Regions from separate parts of the Homo sapiens genome. Here all the other regions are linked to region 3. Evidence: promoter capture Hi-C in 16 types of primary human blood cells and fetal thymus (Javierre and others, 2016). All regions are on one chromosome and are shown on one strand. The core of a region is centred on a gene start or on the middle of the fragment in contact, and the rest is flanking DNA. Distances in the headings are between cores, read along the strand shown. Region 1 overlaps CSNK2A2 (casein kinase 2 alpha 2). Region 2 holds the start of ZNF319 (zinc finger protein 319). Region 3 holds the start of GOT2 (glutamic-oxaloacetic transaminase 2). Region 4 overlaps CFAP20 (cilia and flagella associated protein 20).

Region 1 (5,945 bases), core at 1,122-3,621, 550 kb before region 3:
TACTGATTGTGCTACTCCTTCCAATTTTCCAAGTAAAAAGTCTTCGGAGAAAAATGCAAATTCACAATGTTGCAGTTTGCACTTCTAGTTTGAAAACTATCCAGAAGTGAGTTCCATAACCATGGGATACACGTAAAATGACGCTTAGGGTTGTACAAACTTAAGCACATGTATTGTCAAGAAAAACAAAATCAAGGCCAGGCGTGGTGGCCCACACCTGTAATCCCAGCACTTTGGGAGGCCAAGGCGGGTGGGTCATGAGTTCAGCAGTTCAAGACTAGCCTGACCAACATGGTGAAACCCCGTCTGTACTAAAAAATACAAAAATTAGCCAGGCATGGTGGCACACGCCTGTAATCCCAGCTACTCAGGAGGCTGAGGCAGGAGAATCACTTGAACCCAGGAGGCGGAGGTTGCATTGAGCCAAGACTGTGCCACTGCACTCCAGCCTGGGCAACAGAGCGAGACTCCTTCTCAAAAAAAAAAAAAAAAAGAAAAAGAGAAACAGAATCCAATGAGTTTAATTCAACTCAAGAAATGAAGAAGAAAACCACTGAAAGCCCAACAAAGTTGAAGGAAGAAAGAAGAAAAATAAGATAGGAGCAGAAAGAGAAAAACAAACAAAAACAATAACTGAGCAATAAAACCAAAAAGCTGGTTCTTTTAAAAGATTAACGACAGATCTCTAGCACGACTGATTTAAAAAGGAGTAAAGGCACAAATACTACTTAAAAATGTGAAGGAAAGGATAACTACAGATACTCCAGAGTTTTTTTTTTTTTTTGTGACCAGTCAACAATATAGTTTTTAAGTCCTAAGAGAATTCTTTGTCAATCAAATTGAAAGTGAATAAAATATATATTATCCAAATAGACTCAAGAAGAGACAGAAAACCTGGATAAACTTTAAGTTATGTTTTAAAAAGGAAAGTATAGTTCAAAGTCTTCCTCCCATCCTTGAAAGACATCTATCCATATAATACCTATCTTACATAAACTTTCAGAGAATAGGAAGAGGAAAAGCTACCCAATCTATCTTATATAGTATAACCTTGATAGCAAACTTAGAGAAGGACCCTATGACAAAATAAAATTATAGATCAAAATTTATAATCCATTGCACAAATATAAAATACTGAAAAGAATGGGCTGCGGGCTGCATCACTGTTAATTCACCCTGGTATTAACGAGGAATGAACACTCTCTGGGTGATAATCTTAAAACCAGTTATTAATATACTTTACACTAAAATTAAAAAGACAAAAAAACAAACTTTCCTAATAAGATGGACACAGGACAAAATAAAAAGACTAAAGGACATCACGACGGTGAACTAAATGATTTTGTTTGTGGCCTGCCATACTATCTGGAAAAGAATTTAATTTTCCTGCCATGATTTGCTCTTCAAAAATACACATCTGCCATCTGATATTTAATGATCTCTTGATTAAAATGTCATGGCTTGAACATTCAAAGGGGACCTCCAGTTAAACAAGGCAGATCAAACACCTCTGCTCTACCTGAAACTCCTCTAAAATAACCGTAAAAGGAGCAGGGAGATTAAATCGTAAGAACTAAGAAGATAGGAGAAACAACATTGTGAAGCTAGAAAACATGTCTCTGCCAACAGCGAAAGGCCAAAAGCAAACAGCTTCAAACTGAACAACCTCAGAAATGTTCAGGACGGGGGACCTCCAATGTTGGTTTAAGAGAGGAAACAGAGTGCACCGGAAACGGGAAAATGAGTTTAAGATGCCACACTGAAAAGGGGAGACTTAGGTGAAGTCTGCACAACATTCCCCATGGTTCTCCTCAACTTGAGGCTAAGATACCAGCAGCCAAGCCTGCATCCTTGAGACAGGGGCTGATGGTTCTTTAGAGCAATGAGCAGACATTCAAAAACCATGATATTTCAGAGACTGAATAACAAAATAACAAAAACTCACACACAAAGAAAAATAGAGAAAAAGTATGAAGGGAAAAAATACAATATTCTTAGTGAGAAAATAGAAGGTATTACATAAAACATAAAAGAACAGGATACTATTTTAAAAAGTTCCAAGACCAAAATGGAGCTGTAAGATGTGAAGTCTAACATTTGAATGAGTTCTGGAAAGTGAGAACAAAGAAGAAAGGGGAGAAAAATCAAAGAACATTAAAAATATTTTTCCAAAACACAGGGGAAAAAGCCCAGCAAGTATGCAGAACAAAAGATAAAAGGGACCCATACGAAGGCACGTCATTGTGAAATTTCAGAAGAGTGCAAATGAGAAAATCCTAAAAGCTTCCAGAGGTAAAAAACAAAAACAAAACCGTCACATAAGATGAAACTAGAATGGCTTCAGTGGTAATACTGGAACAATCTCTTCAAAATCAAGGAAATTATGAATTATAACCTAGAACTCTATACCCTAGCAAATACATTAATTGGCAGGACAAAATAAAAATGACTTCAGATATGCAAGCTTCAAAAAAACATTAATTTCCCATAATCCCTTTAAAGAAAGCTACAAGAGAATGTATGAAACATCCCCTTTGAGGGTTAAGACCCCAGAGAGAATTTCTCTAAGAATTAGAATTCCCACTAACTGATCTTCAGCAGTTGTTAAATCAACAGAGCAGATGTCACTTTAAGAAACAGAAAATGGGCTAGGTGCGGTGGCTCACGCTTGTAATCCCAGCACTTTGGGAGGCCAAGGCAGGTGGATCACGAGGTAAGCCATCGAGACCATCCTGGTTAACATGGTAAAACCCCATTTCTACTAAATATACCAAAAAAAAAAAAAAAAAAAAAAAAAAAAAAACTAGCCAGGCGTGGTGGTGCACGCCTGTAGTCCCAGCTACTTGGGAGGCTGAAGCAGGAGAATTGATTGAACCTGGGAGGGGGAGGTTGCAGTGAGCCGAGATTGCGCTATTGCACTCCAGCCTAGGCGACAGAGCGAGGCTCCGTCTCAAAAAAAAAAAAAAAAAAACAAAACCACAAAATGCTGAGGTGAAATTTTACACATGTAGCAGACAATTGGTAAAAACTCATTAACGAAGCCCAGGCATTTAAAACTTGGGGAATTACACTACGAACTTCCATTCAGATAAGGTTTCAACTTTTGCATTAGGAAAATATTTGGTTTCATTAAAGCCTATCTGGTTTTCTAAGACATGCACACACATTCCCACTCACATATACCAGGATAAACCTGGGTGATTCATAGGATCAGCTACACATATCAGCATAGTACCCTACCAGCTAAGCGCTGTTATGCTACTGAATGAAAAAATTTACACCCTGCTTTTTAGAGTTCACTGCTAATTTCACCTGTAAGGAGTCACATTAACAAGAAAATCTGTCACATGTGGGAAAGTGCTATACTACACATAAAACTTCCTTATTGTTTTATAAGTCAAAATATCTTCTTTTGCTTACTTTTCACTAATTAACCTTGTTTTAGTCATTTTAGAGTGATTAAGAAAAATTAGGCCAGGCGCGACAGTGGCTCACACCTATAATCCCAGCCCTCTGGGAGGCCGAGGTGGGTGGATCACCTGAGGTCAGGAGTTTGAGACTAGCCTGGCCAACATGGTGAAACCCCGTCTCTGCTAAAAAAAATTTAAAAATTAAAAAAAAAAAATTAGCTGGGGGTAGTAGTGCATGCCTGTAATCTCAGCTACTTGGGAGGCTGAGGCAGGAGAATCGCTTGAACCCGGGAGACAGAGGTTGCAGTGAGCCAAGATCACACCATTGCACTCCTGCCTGGGTGACAAAAGCGAAACTCGATCTCAAAAAAAAAAAAAAAGTGTGAGAATAAGGTTCTCTTACTTTTACCCAGAACCATCCGTCCTGATACCAACATCTTTTAACTGCTGATTTAGTTTTGTCTCTAGCTCCTGTCACAACAAAATCACAAGTCTCTTATTCACTGACAGAGTTACAATCAACTACAAGTCCTCCAAGTGCCCCTGAAAATCAACACTACTATTTTGTTTGTATATTGGTTTTTAAATTACGTTCTAAAAAAGGGTTTCCACCATGTCTAGTATGCCTAACCCCAAAAACCTTGATATTAAGGTTTTAATGTTTGAACAATAAATTTTGTGAAACACGAGCTTAAAACCATGATTTAAAAAGAACACTTCAATGTCTAAAATAATTTACATTATAAGAAAATGTAAAAAACCCGATAGGGCTCTTCTAAAGCACTGACTCTGGTTTTTCTGAATCATTTCTTTGTACGTCACGTGCGCAAACACACACTTTGTTATTTGACAGCACTGAATCCAATGCATTGCTTCTTTTCACAAGGGCCTTGTATCGGTCTATCCCTTCCTCTCGGCAAAGTAAGATTTCGTACAAAAGGCAAAGTTAACATACAACTAAAGCTATGCTGTCTAAAACAGGAGTGTTACAGATGAGGCATTAGCTTAGACCCAGCCGAGCAGCTACTCCTGGAGTAGGCAAGGCAAAGGGTGATTAAGTAATTTCACCTAATGCAAGAACCCTAGCCACTTTCTGCATCCTGCACTCATGCCTTAAGGAACCCAATTTGTTATTTCCTCCTCTCACCAATGACAGCCCTGGCCCCTTGGGTTCTGGAGTACACAGTATTTATCACCAGCTCCCCCTCACCCCGTTAACCCCATGCCAGAAAGAAAAGCATACGCACCTTAAAATCTGTATTATTGATATATTCAAATACCAAAGCTGGTGTCTTTGACTGTAAAAGAGAATATTAATGCTTTTTAAGTACCCAAACAATAATCAATGTAATCTGCTTCTGCCAAAATGGCCCATCCCCAAATCCTACTTAGGTAACACAGGGATTCACTCATCAGGGACAGCCTGTCAAGAAAAGTATTCTCTTGAAATTTTATGATGTCTGGAATTTGCTTCAAAATAACTGGGGATAGTGGGAGGTGGGAAGTGGTGGGAGTATAGATGAAACAAGGTTGGCCACAGCTGATTAACTGCTAAAGTTGGGTCATGTGTGAGGGAAGTTCATTACATTTTTCATTTACTTTTGAAAATGGTTGAAAATTTCATAATAAAAAGTTTTAAGAGGAATGTATTCTCCGAATAACCTACCAATGGCCTTAACCAATCTTCAAAGGTTATGTGAGGATTTACACCCTGCAGTGTTCCAGTCTGCCATATACAAAAAAAGTGACACATTTTCATCTTAGTTTAGCAAGCCAGAATTGCACTTGACAGAATTATCATAGGTTGTGGGAATGTATCATAGGTCTTTTGGGGGTCCAAAAGGAAAATATAACCATCCGTGATATTATCAATAAGCTATACTATAATATTATTGCCTTGGCTAGAGACCATTAAAGATTGTCTCATCTTATCAAGCAGACCTGTTCCTAAAAACTCATATATAATCAAATATTTTTAAAGCACTATAATCTTTAATCCAATGAGTACAAAAGTGCTCAATATCATCTTGTGTAAATCTAGATTTTCAAATAACAGGATTCCTTAATTGAAGTAAAATAACGCTAATTGGCAGTAATAAGCTTTCAAAATTGGGAGAAAGTAGGGACTTAAGGGGTTATAGAAAAAAAAAAACATCTAGAAATCTTTGCTCAAGAACCATGTGAAAGTTACCTAGGAAACAGGCCACAGGGCAGCATGCAGATCTCTGCGAGGACAACTCAGAGTCCAAACAGCAGCCCCAGTAGCAGCCATGATTAAAAATTCTTCACCAGCCCGAAGCTGTAAGGGTTTCATCAGTATTACCACTTCTCTCAACGGGAGAATAGTGGAGTAAGCCTGACCTTCTAATAGACAAGGGGTCCCTGTTGATTTTTGTCATCTTCAACTTACTTGTCTTACATATCATGTAAAACATACACATACTTTAACAAATTAAGTTCTGCTAACTTAAAAAAAGAAAAAGCAAAACAAAAATGCTCCTGGTATACCACATACTGACTCACATTTTAAAAATT
Region 2 (5,567 bases), core at 755-3,254, 730 kb before region 3:
CTTCTTAGGCAATCAGAGAGGTCTGCAGCCAGCTCAGCTCCTCCAGGCAGAGGAAATGGCAGCGGCCTCCACCCCCACCCACCTCAGTGCCCCGCCCCTGGGCCAGGACATCCCAGCCTCCACAAGTCCCCTCCAGCTTCCTGCCAACCCTTTAGCTGAGACTCACAGGTGAGAGTCCGGGGTTATCTGCCTACAATACAGAATCCTCCTTAAGGCCCGCAGCTCCTCTCCTGTTGCTACCCTGAGTCTTAATACGGGCCACACCACTTAGAGCTAAGGAGGCCAGACCTCCCAGGTCTGAGAGCCCAGTGGCAAATGGCCTCTGACAGTCAATATTTAGGACAACTACGTGGAACCAAGGACCATTTCAAAAACTCTCACCTATGAGGGACTGACCACACCCCTTCAACTATCCCTGACCACAGGCCCATTCTCTCTCCGCGTGACAGGATGGGTGGCCCTACAGGAACCAGAGCCCATAGGTGATGGGGGCTAGATGAGAGGGCCACAGAACCACCCAGGCTTGATGTCCACACAGCAGAACTTCCTCACTCTGGTTCTCTCCCAGAACTCACACACACACACACACACACACACACACACACAAAGTCCTAAATCCTCTGAATCTCATAGTGTCAAGGCCTGCAGGAAAATGTAAGAAACTGCCCTGGTCTGCCTTGGCAATGCAGGATGCAGCATGCTAACCACAGAGCATTTCTCATCACCTCTCTAGAGACAACTCCATTCCCTTACTCCAAGCCTATAAAGTTCTGGGTAATTGTTGGAAGGTAAAGCCCACCCAGCCCAGGCAAATCTCTAACTCACCACTTTGTGGCAGCATGAGGTAATGCCAGCGAGAGGGAGGAACTTTCAGAGTCAGATGCAACCCACTTCCAGGTTCCCAGCTCATCTGCCTCTTACATTTAAAAGTTTGTAAGTTTTCTCCTGAGCAGAGGAAGAAGGAAGGAGAAGCCTTCACAGGACAGTCTGGCCTCTAACTGCTCTGCCAAAGAAATGTAAGAGTCAGGCTAAAAGCTGTCATCCTCAGCATCTTCCGGAAGGGAGGGAGGAGAGGAGCGGCTGCTCTGGGTGGAGGCAGCAGGTTGCTTGAGCAAGCAGGTACCACTCTAAGCCTTCTCGGGACAGAGAGGGGGAAGGTGGGCTTCTCTGAGCGCCTGTAGGTCCGCTGTGCCAACCCACTGTTTTGTTTGCTTTTTCTGGCATGAATGGCTGTCAGACAGTGTCCCCTGGCTTGGTCTGCAGCACCCCCTGCCCACCCTGGCCCTCCTGCAGCAAGGTGCAGCCAGGAAGCCTCTGTGATCACTCCGCAAAGGGGAGAGAGGAGGCAAGGAGAGGCAGGGGAGGCCCCCCACCTGCGCCCCACCCCGTCTCTTCTTCCTCCCTGAGAAACCGAATGAAAGCCGATCACCTCCCGCCGGCCCTGCCTGCAGGCCCAGCTGGGCTGCGTCCTGTCAGCCCTCGTCCGGGATGGCCCGGCCGCTGCGACCCGAGGGCGAGCCCCGAGGGCGGCCGGGCTGGAGAAAGGCCCCAGGGCTACAGGCCGGGCCCAGGAAGCGGCTGCGCCTCGAGGCCCGGCCTGGGCCGCCCAGAAGCTCAAGAGGCCGCTAGGTCGCGGCGGAGGGGCGCGGGGGGGCGGCCGGGCCGGCAGAGGAAGGGGTGCGGCGGGCGCGGGGGTGGCCCCCAGATGCGGCCCCGGGCGCCCCGCCGCTCACCTGCTCCAGGCCGCCTGCAGGGCAGGCGCGGGGCGAGCGGCGACCAGCTGCTCTCTCGGCCGCCCCTTTATTCCGGCTCCATCCGCGGCGGCGCGGCCTACGCGCGCTGCCAATCCCCGGCCTCGCGTAGCGGCTGCGGCCGGACCGGGGGCGGGGGACGGGCTAGCGGCGGCCGGAACGGAGGAAGCGACGCGCGCTGCCGGAGTAGCGGGGCCGGGGCGAGGAGCGCCGGGAGGGCGGGCGGACGGACCGATGGCCTTGCGGAGACGGGCGGACGGGCGGGCGGCGCGGGGGCCAGGGAGGCGGGGCCGGGGGAGGAGCGGCATCCCGGGCGGCGGCGGCCAATGCGGGAGGAGCGGGCGGCGCGGAGCGAGGCCGCCCCCTGCCGGGGACCCCGTGGCCGGGCCAGGTCGGACAAGCCGGGTGCTCCGGGCGGTTTTCGAGTCGCCAGGCCTGGGCGCCTCGACTAACCGAGGAAGGGCGCTCTGCTTCCGGCCACCCCGCTCGGGCTTAGGGGAGGGGGCTCCGGGTGACCGCCCTCGGCCCGGCTCTGCGCAGGAGAGGAGGGGCCTCCTAGAGGCTCTGGTCTGCCACAATTGATCCGCCCCTAACTGCTCAGCTTGGCTTTTAGGGGCTTGGACTTTGGGCTGGTTTGAGGAGGGGGCTCCAGGACCTCTGATCCTGGCCGGGCTCGGGGCAGGCAGGGGTCTCCGCTGGGTCTAGTGCGCTGACCCGGGACTGTCGTGTCTGGTATGTCTGGTCCCGGGTGGCTGCAGACAGCAGCGGGCAGAAAGGTGAGGGCCCTGAGCGATATATGAAATGGGTACACGAAGGCTGGGGAGGTCCCAGCGGGGTGCCGGGAGGCTGCAGGTGACCAGATCCGCGTGCGCAGCCGGCAGACAGCTTGGAGTCGGTGGGCTGAATCTTCACCACTGTCCTGCCGGGTTCCGCCCCTCCCGGCTCCGCCCCGAGGCGGTGCCAGCCCAGGCCCCGCCCCTGGGAGGGCGCTTCCGGCACAGCGGAACTCCGGGTGCCGGTTGAGGTTGCTGGTGGACCTGCTCTGGTGGTCTTGGATGAGGCCCCATGAGCGCGGCGCCCCTGGTGGGCTACAGCAGCAGCGGCTCCGAGGATGAGTCCGAGGACGGGATGCGGACCAGGCCGGGGGATGGGAGCCACCGTCGGTGAGGAGTGAGGAAGTCTCTCCGGAGGGCGCGCGCATTCACCCTAGAGCCAGACGGGACCCGAATGTCTGGGGGTGGAGTGGGGAGGGAGGATGCGGGGCGGCTCTGGGAAGGAAAAGGGGACGCAGGAAGAAAGGAGGATCCAGAAGATATACCCCTCCCCCCCACCCCAGACAAAGCTCCAGAGTGGCCCCACCTGGCTAGGGCCAAGTTGGGAGGCCAGACCTGGGTTCGGGTCCAGCCTCGCGCTGGCCCACTCTATCGCCTGGCACACATCCCTGTACCATCCTAGGTCCGTTTCCTGATTTGAATACAATTGCGATAGTAATACTTGCTAAAGCGTAGGGAGAGCCTTTTCATTCATCCAGTAAATATTCACTGAGCACCCACTCCCTGCCAGGCTGGGGTCTGGTAATTCAGTGGTGAACAAAACCGTCGGCCTTACTTCCTGGGGCTTAGATTCTTAAATGCTAGGCCTTATCTTTGCTGAGTGCTTTACAAGCAGTAGCTCAGTTGATCCCACAATTGCTCTATCAGGTAGACATATACTTTCAGATGAGGCATTTGAGGCCCAGAAAGGGGACATGACTTGCCCAAGGTCATAGAGCTAGAAAGTGCTACTCCAGCTGCAGCCTGTCCAGCTTGGAAATGTGACCCCTGAACCACATTGTTGCATGCCCTGTTGTTTCCCATGGGGACCTTGTGCCCCAGAGTTGGAGACCCCAATGAGACAATACTGGAGAAACAATTTCGCTATCTAGAAGCTGCTTCCAGCACCAGGCTGGAAACACACACTCAGAGCCACCATATATAAGGGGTTACAACTTTTGTGGTATATACAAAGGTAGAGAATGCTAACAGGATAAATGTACTCATTTTTCTTTTTTTCTTTTGCAGTGGCCAGAGCCCCCTTCCCAGGCAGAGATTTCCAGTACCTGACAGTGTGCTGAACATGTTCCCGGGCACCGAGGAGGGGCCTGAAGATGACAGCACAAAACACGGGGGACGGGTGCGCACCTTCCCCCACGAGCGAGGCAACTGGGCCACCCACGTCTATGTACCATGTGAGTGATGTGTGAAAGGCAAGTTGCCAAGACCCATAGACCCGTAGGTGCCTCATGAAGGGCAGAATCTGGCCCCAACTAGAAGGAAGAAACCAGAAACCTCTAACACTGGTGGTGGGAAAGTCATTGACTTAGCAGAGAAAGAGCAGGTTTCAAGAACTGGGGATTTTTCTGTCATCTTGGTTTTGAATTCGTAGCCTAAAATGTGTATTACCTCTGGGTATAATATTCTCCCTGTTCACGAGGAGGTGACCAAAGGAGAATCTGGAGCAGGGTGTCAAGGTCATGCCAGGCACTTTATTTCTGAGAGGGCCCTGGGTACGCTGGGTGTGCAAGGTTCAAATCCCACCCTAGCTCTGATCAGCAGGTGGAAGACAAAAAATGCCCAGGCTTCAGAGTCAGACCTCACTCCGCTGCCCACTACTCTGGGTGCCCTTTATAAGATACTAGACTTCTCAGAGCTTCAGTTTCTTCAAATCTAAAATGGGGGTAGCACTGGCTAGGCCAGGTGGCTCACACCTATAGTCCCAGCACTTTGGGAAGCGGAGGCAGGCAGATCACTTGAGCCCAGGTGTTTGAGACCAGCCTCGGCAACAGGTAGAAACCCTGTTTCTACCAAAAATACAAAAAAATTAGCCAGGTGTGGTGGCACACGCCTATGGTTCCCACTACTTGAGAGGCTGAGGTAGGCGGATTGACTGACCCTGGGAGGTAGAGACTGTGGTGTGCCAAGATCGCTCCACTGCACTCCAGCCTGGGTGACAGAGTGAGACTCCATCTCAAATAAGACAGTTTGGTGGCTTCTTACAAAACTAAACATACTCTTATCATAAAATCCAGCAATTACATTCCTTGGTTTTTGCCCAAAGGAGTTGCATTTGGTATTGACAGTGTTCTGGAGTTTAGCCATTCTAATAGGTGTGTAGCAATATGTCACTGTTGTCTGTTAATTTGCATTTCCCTGATGACATATGATCCAGATCATCTTTTCAATGCTTTTTGCCATCTGTGTATCTTCCTCAGTGAGGTGTCTGTTAAGGTCTTTTGCCCACTTTTTAATCATTTTTGTTTATTAATATTAATCATTTTTGTTTATTAATAAATTTTAATCATTTTTGTTTATTTAATATTATGATGTGGGTCTAATATTGGATCTTAAAATATTGAGTTTTAAGAGTTCTTTATATTTGAAATAATAGTCCTTTATCAGATACGTCTTTTGCAAATACATTTTTTTCCCAGCCAGTCGCTTGTCTTTTCATTCTCTTGACGTTGTCCTTCACAGAGCAGAAGTTTTTAAGTTTAATGAAGTCCAGCTTATCAATTATTTCTTTCATGGATCTTGCCTTTGGTGTCATATCTAAAAAGTTGTCACCAAACCCAAGATCATCTACATTTTTCTCCTATGTTATCTTTCAGGAATCTTACAGTTTTGCATTTTACATTTAGTTCTGTGTCCATTTTGAGTTAATTTTTGTGAAAGGTGGAAGGTCTGTGTCTAGATTCCTTTTCTTATATATGGATATCCAGTTATTCCAGCACCATTGGTTGAAAAGACTCTCTTTTTCACATTGTATTGCTTTTGCTCC
Region 3 (6,208 bases), core at 1,632-4,131:
TGCCTGGTCTGTGATCTTTTAACCAATGGTTATGGTACCACAGTTGCACACTGCATTTTTAAAGTCTCACGAGACCTGCTCAGTTATTTCACCAAAAAGTAAATAATCAGAATTAAATAATTAAAAGCAAATCATTATAAATCAAAATACATTAGCATCTTTTTTTTTCTTCATTGAACTGCAACTATGTCTGATCTCATGTCACTATACATTTACAGTACAAGTCAACAAGAGAAAGTTTTATTCGCAGTGTTTAGCTAAATGATACACTTGAACTTACAAAGAGTTCCACATATTTACAAAGAGTTCCAAGTATGCCATTGGATAAATCCTCAGTTCTTCAGAATAACAACAGACAAGGTTTTATTGTATTAGAATGAGCCATTTAAATAGAAATGTCGATGAATTCAGTTTAAGTATTTTCCACTTTTACCATTTGGAGCTAGGTAAAGATCACTTCCACAGTGTAAGGAGGGAAGTCTGATCTTGCCTGAAGAGTTAACCTTCATGCCAAATATGGCATCTGATTCTGTCACCTAATCAGGTATCATTATTTAAATCTGAAGAGTAATTCCTCAACATTAGGTGCTCAACTATTTCAAGAATTTATTTTCTGGTCAGGTGGGGTTGCTTAGCCTATAATCCCAGCGCTTTGCGGGGCTGATGTGGGAGGAGTCTGAGACCAACACAGGGAGACTCTGTCTCTACAAAAAATAAAAAATTAGCTGGGTGTGGTGGTGTATGCCTGCAGTCCCAGCTACTTGGGAGGCTGAAGCAGGAGGACCACTTGAGCCTGGAAGGTCAGGCTGCAGTGAGCCATGATTGTGCCACTGCACTCCAGCCTGGGCAACACAGTGAGACCCTGTATTTAAAGAAAAAAAAAAAGGGAATTTTTTTTGGTACATATTTTGCAGCACTGTGGTTCCCCTGTGTAAGATTAGTCGAGAGAAGGAACAATAAAATCTGTAACTGGTTATGATCAATTAGTTGTAAACACCATTACACTTGGACCAGCCTATGTTCAGATTTTGATCTAAGATACAACATTAAAATGTCATACTGTATTTGTTTCCGTTGCATTACGTGAAAAATCAGGGCTTAAAATAAAAATATCCAATATAAGAGACATGCCAGCAACTGTTAATAGTGCTGAGATGTAACAGTGAATATAAAGTAGGTAAAGTCTCCGCTCTCATGGAACTTACATTCTAGTAAGAAAAATACAGAAAAGAAAAATGAGTCAGACTCTCAAACTGAAAGAATGACTAACCCTGACCCCAAGGGATTTTCACCAAGCACTAGAGCTTCAGGTGATCTAGCCAAATCCATAAAACAAGGTATTATTTTAAGATTACTGCAATAGGGAAACATACTTTCTCTTGACGGAAATTTTAAGCACTCCTTTGGTTTTCCAAATTTGTTGCATAAATAACTCCTCCTGGCTCTGGCCCACTAGGTAGGCAGACTTAAAGAGCACACGTTGACAGTGGGCCAGGAAGGAGCCAAGTCAGGAAGAGAAAAAAGTGCGAAGCCTGGGCAAAACTGTACTGCCAAGGCTGTGGGGCCTTGGAAAGGACAGATAGTTCTGCTGGCTGAAAGACACAGAGCATACATTCAAACGAAAGGCCAAGCTACGCTTTGCTCCTTGCAGTTAATACCTGCTTGGGGGTGGTTTTAAAACTCAGTTCCTTATTAAGGTAGTGCTTAAGGAGAGTGCTCCAAATCGGCTTCTTGAGTTGAATTAATCTTCTGGCTCCGGTCTCCACTGGGAATGAATTACTAGAGCTCGTTTCAAGCTCTGAAATTTCCCTCCATACTATTATACACGCCACAGTACGAAATTACGTTTGTCATTTTTTGAGCAATGACCATTTGTCATTGTCCTTCCCTCGCCTTGTTCACAGTTGTATCGTTGGCATCTGGTCCAGAGCCTGGCTCTGAGAAACTGCAGTTACGAAATATTTACTGAATGAAAGAGCACAGGGAGATGGAGAGGAAGATTGATAGCCTCCCTGCAACCGGACCTCCTTAGGGGCAATAAGGAAAAAACAAAACAAAACAAAAAAAGAGACACACTACACCTCGACCCTTTCCCAAGCAAAGGCCAAACGGGCCCCGGGGTCACAGGGACCTCGGGGGGTCGCAAGGTCAGGAGAATGCCGCACGCCAAGGTCGCAGGTGCGGGAAGGAAAGCGAGGCCCGAATGCCGGCGCCCCGGAAACCTTCCTCTCGCGCTCTTCCCGCCCAGGGCACACACGCGGCAGCCAGCCGCCGCCGGCCCACCGACTCGGGCGGGCCGGGGGCCAGGACAGGTGCGCCCGCCGCCCCCAGGGCACCCTATCAAGGGCACGGTCGTTACCCGGCGCCGCTGCCCCAGTACTATCCGCACCCCTCCCACTGAATGGGAGTCCGGCAACCGCCGAGGGCCACACTTCCTTTCCCTAGGGATTGCGTTGCACGCCTTCCTGCAGGGCCCAGTGCGGGGACCAGAGGGATGTGGGATCCTGAGGATCACTGTGGGGCACGGACGCTCAATCCTCAGTCCCCAGTAAGGGAAAGCCGAGGGGGTGGCAGAAAAGTGTGTGTGTGTGCGTGTGAGTGACAGTGTGTATTTGGGGGCCGGGAGGGGTGAATGTCCTGGGGTGCTCGCAGCTCGGCGGGGCAGGGCCATCGCCCTGGCTCCATCTCCGTTTCCCTTGGCTTACCTGGCTCTGGCAGAGGCCGCGGCGGCGAGGCCCGGGTGGAAGGCGGCGGCGATCCCGGGGAGGACGCGGCCGGAGTGCAGCAGGGCCATGGTGGACCGTAGGAGGGCAGTGGGCAGCCGCAGGACGGAGCAGAGGGCGAGCGGACACACACACAGGGAACCGGCTCCTGCTGAAGGTAAGGACAGGGACTTCCCTGGGCCAGAGCGGCCGCGTGCTGGGCCCGAGCCACGTCACAGCGATCCCTGGCGGCCGGCGGGCGGAGCGGCGTGGGCTCAGCGGAGGTCGTGGAAGAGGATGACTGCACAGTTTACCTACGCCCAGCCCTTGCTGCGCTTCATTCATTTAATCCAGCTGGGCCAGGCCTGGCCGGCCGAAGAGGTGGCTGCTGTTATGGCAGTTTGAAAGATGAGAAAATGTAGGCTGACATAGTTGACGTATTTTGTCTGATGCCTTACAGCCATTAGGACCCAAGGTGGCCTTACTTTCAACCCTAATAGTTTCCCTAAGCACAAGTCATGTCACGTCGTTCCTGAATGTTTCCTTATCCCCCACCCTTTTTTTTTTTTTTTTTTTTTTGAGATGGAGTTTCACTCTGTCACCCAGGCTGGAGTGCAGTGGCGTGATTTCGGCTCACTACAACCTCTGCCTCCCAGGTTCAAGCGATTCTCCTGCCTCAGCTCCCCGAGTAGCTGGGTTACAGGTGCCACCACCACGCCCGGCTAATTTTTGTATTTTTAGTAGAGACGGGGGTTTCACCATGTTGACCAGTCTGGTCTCAAACTCCTGATCTCAAGTGATCTGCCCGTCTCAGTCTCCCAAGACTGCTAGGATTACAGGCATGAGCCACCGCACCTGGCTTCCTTATCCCTTTTATGGAGAGGGTCGCATGTGTATTTTGTGGGGCAGTTGTGAGGATTAATAAGATTAGCAGATTATGTCTAAAACAGGGCCTGATTTAGTAAGCACAAAATAACCCATGGTCATTAATGACAAACTCGTGTATGTCAAATCCTGATAACTGTTTGTGGAAGGAAATGAATCGGTTTTGAAGGAAATGAATCGGTTTTAAAGGAAAAAGCAAATGAATTTCAGACACATCCACAAGTCAAACGAGTCTTTCTCATGTGTAGTCTATTTCTCTGATACTCGTCTCTTAAACCAAGGTAGGGGCCCGGTGTGTTGGCTTATGCCTGTAAACCCAACACTTTGGTAGACTGAGGCAGGAGGATAGCATGAAAACAAGAGTCTGAGACCAGCCTGGGTAACAAGATGAAACCCCCATCTCTTAAAAAAATAAAAAAAAATTAGCAGGATGTGGTGTTGCGTGCCTGTTCCAGCTACTCAGAAGGCTGAGGAGGGAGGATTGCTTGAGCCCATTAATTCAAGAGTGCAGGCCGGGCGCGGTGGCTCACGCCTGTAATCCCAGCACTTTGGGAGGCCGAGGCAGGCGGATCACGAGGTCAGGAGATCGAGTCCATCCTGGCTAACCCTCTCTCTACTAAAAAAATACAAAAAAAAAGTAGCCGGGCATAGTGGCGGGCGCCTGTAGTCCCAGCTACTCGGGAGGCTGAGGCAGGAGAATGGCATGAACCCGGGAGGCGGAGCTTGCAGTGAGCCAAGATCGCGCCACTGCACTCCAGCCTGGGCAACAGAGCCAGACTCCGACTCAAAAAAAAAAAAAAAAAAAGAGTGCAGTGAGCCAGGATTGCGCTACTGCACTCCAGCCTGGGTAACAGAGTGAGACGCTGGCTCTAAATAAATAAATAAATACATACATAAATAAAATAAAACCGAGATAGAACTGTGTACCTTGGCAATTTAATATCTCCTCTGTGGCTCCACGTTGCCTGAATGGTAAAGTCTAAACCCCTACTTAGGGCCACATTCTAGGTCCTTCCGGCCCAGCTCCAATTTACTGTCTCAGACCCTTATGCTCTCATATGACCTTGACCTATGCGCCTATAGGCCATGACTTGGGATTCTACCTGTGAAAAGTAAAGTAGAGATTCTTCTTTAAAGACTTTCCTCCCTGTCTAATTAGAAATAAATAGTAACTTCTCTTAAAAACAAAATGTATTCAAAGACCTGTACTAACAGTCTTAAATATCTGCTAGCCATAATAAAGAAATCAATGTACTTTATGTTCCTAGCTGCCACCATTTAGCCTAAATATTTGCCCTGGCATGCTTATACTGGTCCAAGCAAGCATTAGGTCATAGCCTGTTCCTCTTCCTTATTTGAAGGTGTTTTTACCTTTCTCAGCATTCCACAAGTTACTTCCTCCTTCCTTTGCTCTCCTCTGCCTTTGCCTCTTTTAAAAAGTTCTAAGTTGCTAGCCAATCAGAACAAATACAAAATGTGAGGACCTGTTCCAGCCAATGAAAACCGGACACAGCAGCAAGGTGGATGTATCAGGTTATAAGTGACCTTGTCTCCTTTGTTTGGTGTACTCTCATGGCAAAACTGCTGTCGAGTGTACCCTTTCTGCCGAAAGTATAAAGATGGCCTTGCTGAGGAAATTAAATTTATGTTCAAGTGCTATTTCTTTACAGCACCAAGAAACAAGAATTTCAAACATACCAGTACATCAGTTTGCTCAGACTGCTGTAACAAATCCCCATGAATTGGGTGGTTTAAAACAACAGAAATTTATTCACTCACAATTCTGGAGGCCCAAAATCAAAAATCAAGGTATTGGCAGGGTTTGTGCCTTATGGGGTCTCAGAGACTCTGTTCCATGCTTCTCCTAGCTTCTGGCAATTGTCTGCACTCCTGGGCATTCGTATGCTGTTAGAGGCATCACTAATCTCTGCCTCTGGTGTCACACAGTGTTCTCTCCCTGTCTGTCTCTTCTCTTCTTTTAAGGACACCAATCATATTGGGGTAGGGTGCATCTTAATTGCCTCATCTTCGCCTGATTACATCTGTAAAGACCCTATTTTCAAATAGATCACATTAATGGGTTCCCCAGGTTAGAACTTAAACGTATCTTTTTTGGGGGCACATTTCAACACATAACAACTACTATTCCCAAAACAATTACATGTCCAGGTATAAACCCTAGAGATCTTCTCACACATTTTTAAGGCTGTCAGTAAAGCATTGTTTATAAAAGCAAAACAGGGAACAACCTAGTCGCCCATCGATGGAGGAAGAGATGGATGTTCTGCTACAGTCTCATGATGGAGCATTACAGAACTACTAACGTGAATGAACTCAATAGATGTCACCATGGATAGACCTCAAAAACATAAACATGCTATAGAATTATACATATAATATGGTGCCACTTAGACAATATTTTTAAAATACACAAAACCATAACATACATTTATTCATAAATGTATGTAAAAGTTTGAAAAAATATGCCAAGGATATGGTTCAATACAGGATTAGGAGGGCATGAGCGTATTTGCCCTTGTGGAGGGAAGGAGACAACTTTGTCATATTAGCTTCATAAAAATTATAGATAAGAGGCAGGCACGGTGGCTCGCGCCTGTAAT
Region 4 (5,958 bases), core at 2,549-5,048, 610 kb before region 3:
ATGCGAGCAGCCCTACTGATAAGAGCTGGCAGTATTCCAACAAGATGCAAACACTACTTTTATAACACACCACTAATTATTCTCAATAACATAACCATTCTTTAAAACGGGACAAACTGCAAAGAGCAAATAGACAGTTAAATTGACAGGATTAAGAAGTAACTTGGGCCTGAAAACTGCTATTGCTAAAAAGCAACATGTTGCTATTGATCCACCCTTATTTAAAGCATGCCCTCAAATTTCACATCACTCAAGCTCTCTCTGGCCAGTGTCAACAAGAGGCCTCCCTCAGTTCCAGAAAGACCAGCCAGATCTCACAGGGAGAAAATGTTAGGGAATCTGCCTTCTGCCCATCTCAAAGTTTACGACTTCCCTGGAACTCCAGCAGATATGACCTATTCAGGTCTTCACAGAAGAAAACAAAGCCGTACAATGCACACAGAAGCCAATGCAGGCTGGAAGCTGGATAGACTGTAGTATTCCTGCACTTCTGCCCAGAGGCAAGCTAACTTTTAGTTGGATTTTCAATAAATTACTAAAGAGATTTCTTTTTCTCCCAGTGTTACTAGATAACAAACACACTCACAAATTTAAGTTTTACAAAATGAATGAATGTATTCCACAAAACAAGGGAACTTGGAGGGGTCAAGGCAACTTTGTTGAAGGAATGCCCATCAGTCTCTCTAGATTTTGAACCTGGCTGGTGGTAAGACAAACTAAACAGAGCTTTTCCCCAAGAGACTGTTTAACCCCCGATGAAGAAAAACACAAGTATCCCCATGTGAAAAGTCTCCAGAGGTTTGAAATCAAATTAAGTGGATTTGTTAGTGAATTGTGATTTTTCTCCTTTATTAAGTTTAAAGGGCTGCAAATACAAACTCACTGGAAAAGAGTAGCGTGGAGGTGGTAAGGGCGATCAATCAGATATGTGCATTAGAGGGTAATTTCCCAAAGCCTCTTCTCTAGGCTCTAAAACTAGGATCAAAGGGGAGAGGCGACAGGCAATTTGGGGCAAAGGCTCCCCACCACCCTGGCCATGTGGCTGTCATTGCCTAATATTATAAAGGTCTTCCAGGAAAGCAACCGTCTCCTAAAACCAGCTTCTGAAAACAGCATACAGGAAGATACATGTCTCAGAAAGTATCAACGTCCTTTCCTTAGCTCCTTCCAGTTCAGAGGTCACTGGGCAGGCGTGGCTTTGGGATGAAGATAAAATGAACTGCTCAGCATTTATTGCTCATGGCGGAAGCAGGTTTTAACATGTTCTGTCCTTCTCTAGATCACAAAGAGCCGACTGTTTTTGATTTGTTAATTCTTTTTCATTCATGACACATTCCCACTATCAAAGTGTGGCCTATGAGTGCTTTATTCCTCAAAAAAAATAAAATAAAAATAAAAATCTAAAGCCAATATTGTTTTATTTCATTAATTTCCCCTCCCCTGCCCATGAGCTGGAGATACTCAAAGAGCTTCAGAATCCAGTTACTGGCAATTACAGATCATAATGGTTCTCTGCCTCTGCAGACAACAGAGGTGACCAAAGCTTCAGGCCAGTCTTACAATCACTCTCCCAGGCTTTCCATGGTTGCTAGGGCAACTAATAAAGAACACCGATTTCTCTCCCTCCCCGCAATGTAAGCCTCAGGGAGGTGGGTCAAGCTGAGGGAAAAAAAAAATACTACTACTGGGATAGGGAGGGAGCTGGTGGATGCTGTATATTTCTATGACTGCTTTAAAAATAACATGAGTTGTATCCATTCCCTCCCCCAACTTTCATTTTTCTGGCCCCACCCACTCAGCCTGGCAGGCAGCTGAACCCTCAGCCATCTGGCATCCTAGCTTTAATGACACATGCTCTAATTTACATTAAACCATTAGAGCTGTCCATTTCAGCAGGAAAGTTCCTGCACTGGGTTAAGGGCTGGGTTCCCAGACAGAAATTAGGCAGAGGGAGACCCCTGTGGGGAGAACTGAGCATAGCTCCGACTCAGACTCCCAGGCTCCAAGGGTCAAAGGCTTCACTCCCTTCGCTGTACTTGACAGGGGCTATCCAGACAGCAGACAAGCAACTCTGGGCATACACCAACAACCCCTAAGTCAGCGTAAGGACAATTATGTGCACAGCTAAGAAAAGGCAAGTGTAATTAAAACCCATGTCTTCGGACGGGCGCGGTGGCTCACGCCTGTAATCCCAGCACTTTTGGAGGCTGAGGTGGGAGGATCACCTGAGATCAGGAGTTTGAGACCAGCCTGGGCAACATGTGAAACCCCATCTCTACTAAAAATACAAAAAAATTAGCTGGGTGTGGTAGCGCATGCCTGTAATCCCAGCTACTCAGGAGGCTGAGGCAGGAGAATTGCTTGAATCCAGAAAGAGGAGGTTGCAGTAAGCTGAGATTGTGCCATTGCACTCCAGCCTGGGTGACAGAGCGAGACTCTGTTTCAAAAAAAAAGAAAAACAAAACCAAAAAACCATGTCTTCGTTCAATTACAGTAAAACCTGACTCAGAATAATGAAGAACATTCTCCAAGTCAGAAAAAAAGTTTTACCACCTTTATGTCCAAATACACTCAATTCTACTACTGAAAACAGCACCAATTTAATTTTTATCAACAAGGCATGCTAACTAAAAACTAGAATGTAGGAAATTTTTTCTGAAGAGAGACTTTATTTTTAAAATTAGAACAGGACATGGGAATCTAACACTATCCAGCAACAGCAGAAGACTCTGGTCTAATATTTAGTCTTGGAGTAGGGGAGAAACAGCAGCAGCTGAGAGAAAGACAGGGTGACAGGAAAGACAGACAAAGGCGTTTTCATGAATTAATGCAATCTCATCTCATGTACTTTTAGGATACTATCTTGTTTTTTTTGAGACAAAGTTTTGCTTTTGTTGCCCAGGCTGGAGTGCAATGGCACCATCTCGGCTCACCGCAACCTCCACCTCCCGGGTTCAAGTGATTCTCCTGCCTCAGCCTCCCGAGTAGCTGGGATTACAGGCATGTGCCACCATGCCCGGCTAACTTTTGTATTTTTAGTAGAGACGGGATTTCTTCATGTTGGTCAGGCTGGTCTTGAACTCCTGACCTCAGCTCGCCTTGGCCTCCCAAAGTGCTAGGATTACAGGCGTGAGCCACTGCGCCCAGCCAGGATTACTACCATTAAGACCGAAAATTGGCTGGGCGCAGTGGCTCACGCCTGTAATCCCAACACTTTGGGAGGCCAAGGCAGGCGGATCACGAGGTCAGGAGATCGAGACCATCCTGGCTAACACGGTGAAAACCTATCTTTACTAAAAATGCAAAAAATTAGCTGGGCGTGGTGGCGGGCGCCTGTAGTCCCAGCTACTCCGGAGGCTGAGGCAGGAGAATGGCGTGAACCCAGGTGGTGGAGCCTGCAGTGAGCCGAGATCGTGCCACTGCACTCCAGCCTGGGGGACAGAGCAAGACTCTGTCTCAAAAAAAAAAAAAAAAAAAAAAAAAAAAAAAAAAGACTGAAAATTACAGCATGTTTTACACAAGTATAAGTGGGAACAGAACCTCCTGGTATTTTCCTTACAACCAGAAGTAATGTTTACATTAAACGTAAGAGTCTTTTAATAAATATAAGATTTGCTGGTCCCAGATGTCAAGGTAACATTAAAGAAACCCCTAATTTCTTCTAAGCTGTTGGTTTAGAAACTTACAAAAGCTTCTATCAGGAAACTGTATAGCCAGGAATACAGACCTTAAGAAGCTAATAATGTCAAGTGTGATAAGAAAGAAGTAAATTAACTTACCCTGAAGAGTTAAGGAAGGTCACTCTGAGAAAGGCCTTTGAACTGTGACTGGAGCCTAATGAAAAGATGGGAGTGAGGCTTGTGGGGTGGTGAGGGGCAGCGCCCAGCAGAAGGACCAGGAAGTGCAAAAGCTTGAAGGTGAGAGAACAGGACTTCCTTCAATTCAGTAGGAGGCTACTACTAAGAGGGGGAACCGGGTGAAGTGAGTCCCGCCTGGAGAACAAGTGAAGCAGGTGCCAGAGCATGGGTTATGTGGCCTTAGAGCCACATTAAGGGCTTAGGGCTGGGCGAGCCACGGTGCAACAACTAAATTCTTCTCATTTCAGGAGTCTGGTTTTACAGTACTTCCTATTCCTAGAAATCTGGATGGTGGGCTAAGTTCAAACATCTTATTTTAGTTTTGAGCAAATTCCTCAGTCCCTGCCATATTTAATTCTGTATGTCATTACTTATAAAGTACTAACTACAGTCATGCATTGCTTAAGGATGGGATTACGTTCTGAGAAATGCCTCATTAGGCAGTTCCATGGCTGTGTGAATATCAGAGTGTACTTACACAGACTTAGACAGTACAACATCCTACACACCCGGGCCATATGGTATAGCCTATTGCCCCTAGGCTACAATCTGTACAGCATACTACTGTACTGAATACTGTAGGCAACTGTAACATAATGGTACGTATTTGTGTGTCTAAACATAGAAAAGGTACAGTACTGTATAAACGATAAAAAGTGACACAACTGGATAGGGCACTGGCCATGAGTGGAGCATGCAGGACTGGAAGTTGCTCTGGGTTGAGTCAGTGAGTGAGTGGTGAGTGAATGTGAAGGCCTAGGACATTACTGAACACTTTGTAAACACAATACACTTATGCTACAATACATTTATTTTATTTAGTTATTTAGTTAGTGCTGGGATTACAGGCATGAGCCACTGTGCTTTAGTTATTTAGTTAGTGCTGGGATTACAGGCATGAGCCACTGTGCCTGGCCAGACTACACTAAATTTATTAAAAATATTTTTCTTTCATCAATAATAAATTAACCTTGGCTTACTGGAACTTTTTTACTTTATAAACTTTAAAAATTTTAAAAACTTTTAGACTATTTTGTAATAACACTTAGCTTAAAACACAATGTTCAACTGCACAAAAATATTTTCTTTCTATATATCTTTATTCCATAAGGTTTTTCCTATTTCTTTTTTTAACTTTTTAAACTTTTTTGTTAAAAACTAAGACACAAACACACACATGAGCCCAGGCCCGCACAGGGTCAGGATCATTAACATCAATCACAGTCTCCACCTCCACATGCTGTCCCACTGGAAGGTCTGCAAGAGCAATAACGCACATGGCGCTGTCATCTCCTATGACAACACTGCCTTCTTCTGAAATATCTCCTGAAGGACCTGCCTAAGGTTATTTTACAGTTAACTTTTTGTTCTTGTTGTTAAGTAGGAGTACATTCTAAAATTATGATAAGGCCAGGCACGGGAACTCATGCTTGTAATTCTAGCACTTTGGGAGGCTGAGGCAGGAGGACTGCTTGAGCATAGGAATTCAAGACCAGCCTGGGCAACATGGAGAAACCCCGTCTCTACAAAAATACAAAAATTAGTGAGGTGTGGTGGTGAGGGCCTGTAGTCCCAGCTACTTGGGAGGTTGAGGTGGGAGGATTGCTTGAGCCCAGGAGATGGAGACTGCAGTGAGCCCTGATTGCACTACTGCATTCCAGCCTGGGCAACAGCAAGACCTTGTCTCAGAAAAATAAAATACAATAAAATAATGATAAAGAGTATAGTAAATACATAAGCCAGTAACATAGTCATTTATCATCAAGTGTTAGGCACTGAACATCATTGTATATGCTATACTTTTACATGACTGGCAGTGCAGTAGGTTGGTTTACACCTACTCACAAACACGAGTAATGCATTTGACTTAACGAACAACTATTATGTCACTAAGCGACAGGAATTTTTCAGCTCCATGATAATCTTATGGCACCACTGTCATGTGTAAGGTCTGTCGTTGACTGAAACGCCATCATGTGGTGCATGACTACATATACTGTAACTCTGTTGCTAAGGACTTTATATACAGCTTCATTGAATCTTCATAACCGTGAGAAATAGACGAGAAAACTGAATGGTTAAGGACATAGCTAAGATCACA

Evidence for each region. Contacts are between HindIII fragments. The CHiCAGO score rates a contact against its expected background, and 5 or more counts as called.
Region 1: a contact is called between a fragment that was not itself captured here and the fragment with the promoter of GOT2 in region 3, in 1 of 17 cell types (activated CD4 T cells). The highest score is 5.1, in activated CD4 T cells.
Region 2: a contact is called between the fragment with the promoter of ZNF319 here and the fragment with the promoter of GOT2 in region 3, in 1 of 17 cell types (activated CD4 T cells). The highest score is 6.8, in activated CD4 T cells.
Region 4: a fragment that was not itself captured here is called in contact with the fragment with the promoter of GOT2 in region 3 in 2 of 17 cell types (activated CD4 T cells and non-activated CD4 T cells); the score reaches 5.6 in activated CD4 T cells.

What each region holds. Positions count from the first base shown.
Region 1 is chr16:58,179,603-58,185,547 of GRCh38, forward strand. CSNK2A2 (casein kinase 2 alpha 2) reads right to left here. Exons shown (of 12, transcript NM_001896.4): 4 at 4,658-4,708. Among named protein-coding and RNA genes, the nearest start is that of CSNK2A2, 16 kb to the right of the region's middle. The HindIII fragment of the contact is 181 bases long and covers 2,282-2,462 here.
Region 2 is chr16:57,998,668-58,004,234 of GRCh38, forward strand. It overlaps ZNF319 (zinc finger protein 319), which reads right to left and starts at 2,005. Exons shown (of 2, transcript NM_020807.3): 1 at 826-2,005. USB1 (U6 snRNA biogenesis phosphodiesterase 1) reads left to right here and starts at 2,740. Exons shown (of 7, transcript NM_024598.4): 1 at 2,740-2,914; 2 at 3,812-3,978. The coding sequence starts at 2,817. RefSeq lists enhancers at 1,089-1,358, 2,216-2,385, 2,558-2,852, 2,879-2,978 and silencers at 1,479-1,608, 1,659-2,258, 2,549-2,798. The HindIII fragment of the contact is 9,268 bases long and covers 1-5,567 here.
Region 3 is chr16:58,731,435-58,737,642 of GRCh38, forward strand. GOT2 (glutamic-oxaloacetic transaminase 2) reads right to left here and starts at 2,882. Exons shown (of 10, transcript NM_002080.4): 1 at 2,706-2,882. The coding sequence starts at 2,794. RefSeq lists silencers at 2,207-2,296, 2,397-2,486 and enhancers at 2,609-3,227, 2,927-3,006. The HindIII fragment of the contact is 10,522 bases long and covers 1-6,208 here.
Region 4 is chr16:58,120,138-58,126,095 of GRCh38, forward strand. The region is part of intron 1 of CFAP20 (cilia and flagella associated protein 20); the gene reads right to left. Among named protein-coding and RNA genes, the nearest start is that of CFAP20, 6.3 kb to the right of the region's middle. The HindIII fragment of the contact is 219 bases long and covers 3,690-3,908 here.